Regions from separate parts of the Homo sapiens genome. Here region 2 is linked to region 1. The links are contacts of gene promoters, found by promoter capture Hi-C in human tissues and cell types (Jung and others, 2019). All regions are on one chromosome and are shown on one strand. Each heading gives the region's core, a stretch centred on a gene start or on the middle of the fragment in contact. The rest is flanking DNA. Distances are from core to core; before and after follow the strand shown.

Region 1 (2,700 bases), core at 141-2,640:
GTTGTTTCTGGTCAGTATCCAAGAAACCTGTATTTTATTGCAGCAAACACAGGTACAGGGAAAACCCGGTGGTGCCTCAGATCTATGTAGAGCTCATGCTGCTTCTTAACATTCATCCAGGTAAGGCTCTCCTTACTACACATCACAAGTTTTAGATACATTCATCCAGACAAGGCACTCCTCATTAAACATCACTGGATTTACTACTGCTTAAAACCACAGCTCGCCTACCATCAGGAAAGCCAGAAATCATTAACACGTCAAGGCCTGTAAGAAATAAACAGACGCTACAATTTCCGCGAAGGTTCGGAAAAATCAATACACCTTACAAGGCTCTGAAATATTAAAAACAATATACGTAAATCTCCATGGATCTGGGCCCAACGGCCCAAGGTCACAACAATTCAATGGCTAAAAAACCCAAGAAATGAGTCTCCTGCAATTCAGGACAATCCTGGCTAGGAATGGAGTCTGGGTTTGGGACCACTGGGGTCAAACCTTTAATGTGAACAACCCCAACCAAATGCTGCGGCTCCGTGGGAAAACCCCAAGCGTTTCAGGCCACACTTCCTTCCATTTCCCCAGTCTTCCCTTCCCTAGTCACCCCCAACACTCACATCTCCGGAGCCACTTCATCCAATGATAGACGATAGTACTGTGGTGTTTTTTGTTCTCTATACACCAAGACGACAAGCCTTGAATGGACTCCATGGTGTTGGTTACCGACTGGAATTTTCGATCCAACGAGGACTCCAGAGCCCCTGCCGAAGAGGCCGACGAGGAGGAGGCCTTACTGCTGCCTCCGCCGCCGCCGGCCGCCATCTTCCCGGTTTGCACAAGCGCTGCTGCTCCTCTGGCGGCGGCGGCGGCGGCGGCGGCGGGAGCGGGCAAAACAATCACTGCGAGTGCGTGAAAGCCGTAGGTGGGGAGGGAAGCTAGGGGGTGGGGATGGTGCACGCGCTGGGCTCTTCTGGAGGTACGGACGGGAACACCAGCTGCTGGGCACGCTGGCAGCTCCTACACGCTGCAAGGAGGGGCTGCGGGTCTCGGAGGTTTTATCAATATTGTTCAAGGGGTCGTGTTTAAACCAGTCAGTAATCACGGAAAAATTACGCAGAAAACAGGACCTGCAAAGCCTTTCAAAACGCCTGACGCCGAAACTAATCGTTTTATACTTTTCGGCTCTCAGTGCTAAGGCCCTTCCCCGCCCCTGTTCCCACACTCCTGTGAGCCAGGTCGGGCGTTAATATCTTAAATGTAATACTACCCGACTGCCCCTTCAGTTGCAGAAATCTTTCTTTCCTTTAGACTCGCTAGCACAGAAAAGGTCCAAGGCTACCTAGTCAGGATTTTTTTTGCAACGCAATAGCAGCAAAGGGGCAGCAACAGTATCGCGCACGCGCCACTTGGCCCCACCCCCCTACCCCTGCTTCCTTCTCAACCTTGAAAGCAGAGGGAGGCGTGATGGCGGGGCAACCTGACCAATCAGGAGTGGAGAACCACAAGCGCGCGCAGGAGCTCTGAAGCCCCCAGGGCCCAGGAGGCGCTACGATTATTTTTGCGCCTGCGCAGAAGATAAGCGTGTAACGGGATGGAAGGAAAAACTGGGAGGGATGGGTGAGGGAGCTGGTATAACTAAGGTTAGCCGGGTGGGGGGGTTCCCCTGCCCCGCCCTTTGCTGCTTTTGGCCGCTCTCTTGGGTGTGTTCAGCTCACACAACAGAGACAGAAAATTCCCACCACTGAGACCACTGTTAGTCTTCAGGGGGCTGCAGCCATCGCCCCCAACTCCTCGGAGGAGCAACGCGCGACAAAATGGCTGGCAGCCATCTTGCGGCACCACAAAAGATGCGCATGCGCCAGATCCAGTGAGCCATTCACTACGCAGACTCCGACACCAAACCGTATTTATTGCTGCCCATAGAAGATAACATTCACAGCCGCTTGACCATTTAGGTTACAGGAAAAGGAAATAAATGAGGAAGTGAAAGGAAATTTTCCTCATAAAATTTTTCGAGGCGAAAAAAGAATGGCAAGATGTGACCTCATTTTCGCCAGCTATGATACAATCTTAAAATTGCATAATACATTACAGTTTTCAAGAGTCTTACGTAACTATTATATGAACCTTATACGAACCATTTTATCGCAGGTATCTATGTAAATCCTCTGAGCTAATTTAAAGGCTCCTGTGTTCCCACTAAACATATACAGTTTTAATTCTTTTAACGTCTCCTCACTGCGGCCATGCCTCTTGAGGCAGGGAACCTGTTTTGTCAAGTTCATGTCCACTATTCATTAATTCAACGAGTTGTTGAACCTCTTGTGCCAAGTACTGTTTTAGATCATGGGGAGCAAAACAGACAAAAATCCGTTCCCTCCGGGATTTAGTGGCAGGACACCACCAACAAGTACATTTCAGACAGTATTAAATTCTGTAAAAAGGTGAAGCAGGGTAAGGGAGAAAGGGGTGTGTGTGTGTGCGCGCGTGTGTGTACGTGTGCACGGCACGCACGCGCCAGTATAAGAATGGTGGTATGGTGAACCAGGAAGTCTTCTCGAAAGAAATAACTCGATCTGAACATTGAGAAAAAAGCAACCAAGCAGATATGCGAGACGGGGAGCGGAACATGCTGGCATTAGGAACAGCAAGTGCAAAGGCTCTAAAATACAGTCTCGCTCTGTCCCTGCCAAGGCTAGA
Region 2 (2,700 bases), core at 122-2,621, 540 kb before region 1:
GCCTTTATGGACACAAAACACAGGTGAATCTTGCTTGGTTCTGAGACAGTGAAGGAATTTCTCCAGTATTCAAATATATTCACATAACCAGTTATATAAATCTAAATATAAAACCAATCTCCAGTAAGTTTGAAGATGGTACTCACCATCTTTGTGAAAAGTTTAACATTACTAACAAAGTCTAATCATATCTTTAGAAGGGGTAAACAGTGATAGCATTTACTGAATTGGAATTACTATTAAAATTCAAAAACTGAACATATTCATTTAACCACAAGCCAGTCTTAGTTTTAAATCAGGACTGTCCGACAAAATATTCTGTCAGTCATTCATGATCTGAATTCTGGTGTATAAGCTCTGTTAAAGTATGGTACACATGAAAAATTCATGAGACATTTGTTTTGTAATAAATAAGGCAGTGGCCAATTATTACTCATTAGTAGCTTTTTTGAGATAAGCTGTCAAGTCGGCCTTTTCTGCCTTCTTTTTAATGCCGGCAAAGATCATTTTTGTTCCAGGGATGTACTTCTTGGGATTTTCCAAATACTCCATCAGCGTATCCTCTCCCCAGATGATGCCTTTGTTCTTATTGGCATCTGTGTAAGAGAATCCAACAGCCTGACCTGTCTTCTGACTGAAGAGACCATGGAGATTAGGCCCAGTCTTGTGCTTGCCTCCCTTTTCCACGGTGTGACACTGGGCACACTTCTGAACAAAAATCTTCTTGCCTTTCTCAACATCACCCATATTTAATTCTCTTTTTCATCACTGGTGCAACGTAGGTTACCACTCTGAAGCCGGACATCCCACTCTCTCCATAAAGGCAATTTTTTTTTTTTTTTGAGACGGAGTTTCACACTGTCGCTCAGGCTGGAGGGCAAAAATGGCGCAATCTCTGCTCACTGCAACCTCTGCCTCCCAGGTTCAAGCGATTCTCCTGCCTCAGCCTCCCGAGCAGCTGGGATTACAGGCGCCCACCACCATTCCAGCAAATTTTTTGTATTTTTAGTAGCGACGGGGTGTCACTATGTTGGCCAGGCTGGTCTTGAACTCCTGACCTCCTGATCCACCTGCCTCAGCCTCCCAAAGTGCTGGGATTACAGGCGTGAGCCACCATGTCTGGCCAGAAGGGTGATTTTTATTTTTAATTTTATTTTATTTTTTCATCTCATACTGGTATCTTTTAATTAAAAAAAAGTTAAAAATCAAAGAGAACGTCTGGCCAGGGCTAGGTTAAGACAGACAGGAACACTTCAGAATCCAAGGCAGGGAAAGGCTGTTGGCCTCTCTTAAGAGGACTGCAGGGGTGGGAAGCGGGAGGGACAAATCATGCACAAAAGTACTTATAATAAAATTATATACGCAACCCCCACCCCTCAATAAAAAGAGAAGAAAAAGCCCCATCACTTAACAGAAGGGTGATTTTTAATAAAATATGTTGTTGTTACAGAATGATCAGATTTTCAAAACAAAACATAGGGATTGGCAGAACAGACGCATCAGGTTATTAAAAGGAGACTATTTCTGTTTCAATTACAGCTGTGCTATAAATTTAGGCCAAAATAAAACAATAGATAGCAGGAGCCCTATGTTCCAAAGAGGGATCTGATAACCAGGCATTGCAGAGCAAGTAGCTAGACAATTTTTGAAATATTTAGTTCAGTATTCACCTTGAGGGGATAAAAAGGGTTGAGAGTAAAGAGGCAATAGGTTTTCTTGGGGAAAGTTGCTGGAATGTTGGTATTTTCCCTCTGTACTCTGTAGGAGAAAGGTGTACAGAGGGAAAATACCAAAGGTGACTACTTTCCCTTCAAGCTTGATATATGTTCCCTGCAGTTTATGGGACATAGTGGTCTGCTTTTTTGTCATTTTGTCTTGTTTATATTCCACTTTAAGAGTTTTTTCCCCTACTATTATTGCATTTATTTTTTGAGTATGTGAAATAGTAACATAGTTACCAGAACTATACAAAAATTACACTCAAAGAAGTATCACCCCTCCCCGACCATTCTTTCCATTCCATTTCACCCACATCTCATCCTTGCCACCCATTCCTACCTACCTCCTATAGGTGATGAATCTCATTCATTTCCGTCGGCCAGGCTGGAATGCAGTGGCACGATCTTGGTTTACTGCAACCTCTGTCTCCTGGGCTCAAGCAATTCTCCTGCCTTAGCCTCCCAAGTAGCTGAGATTACAGGCGTGTGCCACCATGCCCAGCAATTTTTTTTTTTTTTTGAGGCAGTCTCTCTCTGTTGCCCAGGCTTGAGTGCAGTGGCCCAATCTCAGCTCACTGCAAGCTCCGCCTCCCGGGTTCATGCCATTCTCCTGCTTCAGCCTCCCGAGTAGCTGGGACTACAGGCACCCACCACCACGCCTGGCTAATGTTTTTTAAAAATATTTTTAGTAGAGACGGGGTTTCACTGTGTTATCCAGGATGGTCTCAATATCCTGACCTTGTGATCTGCCCGCCTCTGCCCCCCAAAGTGCTGGGATTACAGGCGTGAGCCACGGCGCCCAGCCAAATTTTTGTATTTTTAGTAGAGACGGAGTTTCACCATGTTGGCCAGGCTAATCTTGAACTCCTGATCTCAGGTAATCCGCCTGCCTCGGCCTCCCAAAGTCCTGGGATTACAGGAGTGAGCCACTGTGCTCAGCCTCTAGCATTATTTATTAAAAAGACTATTATTTCCCCATTGA

The links. The method cuts DNA at HindIII sites, captures the fragments that hold promoters and counts their contacts. A contact is called where the count stands out against the background at its distance.
Region 2: a contact is called between a fragment that was not itself captured here and the fragment with the promoter of RPRD2 in region 1, in 1 of the 25 tissues and cell types used here (small bowel).

Annotation. Positions count from the first base shown.
Region 1 is chr1:150,362,837-150,365,536 of GRCh38, reverse strand. It overlaps RPRD2 (regulation of nuclear pre-mRNA domain containing 2), which reads right to left and starts at 1,390. Exons shown (of 11, transcript NM_015203.5): 1 at 618-1,390. The coding sequence starts at 822. RefSeq lists enhancers at 1-119, 603-882, 1,633-1,942, 2,103-2,172, 2,153-2,700. The HindIII fragment of the contact is 19,991 bases long and covers 1-2,700 here.
Region 2 is chr1:150,901,943-150,904,642 of GRCh38, reverse strand. All of the region lies in intron 1 of CTXND2 (cortexin domain containing 2), which reads right to left. All of the region lies in intron 2 of LOC107985204 (a long non-coding RNA gene), which reads left to right. It also overlaps the pseudogene CYCSP51. Among named protein-coding and RNA genes, the nearest start is that of CTXND2, 16 kb to the right of the region's middle. The HindIII fragment of the contact is 5,221 bases long and covers 1-2,700 here.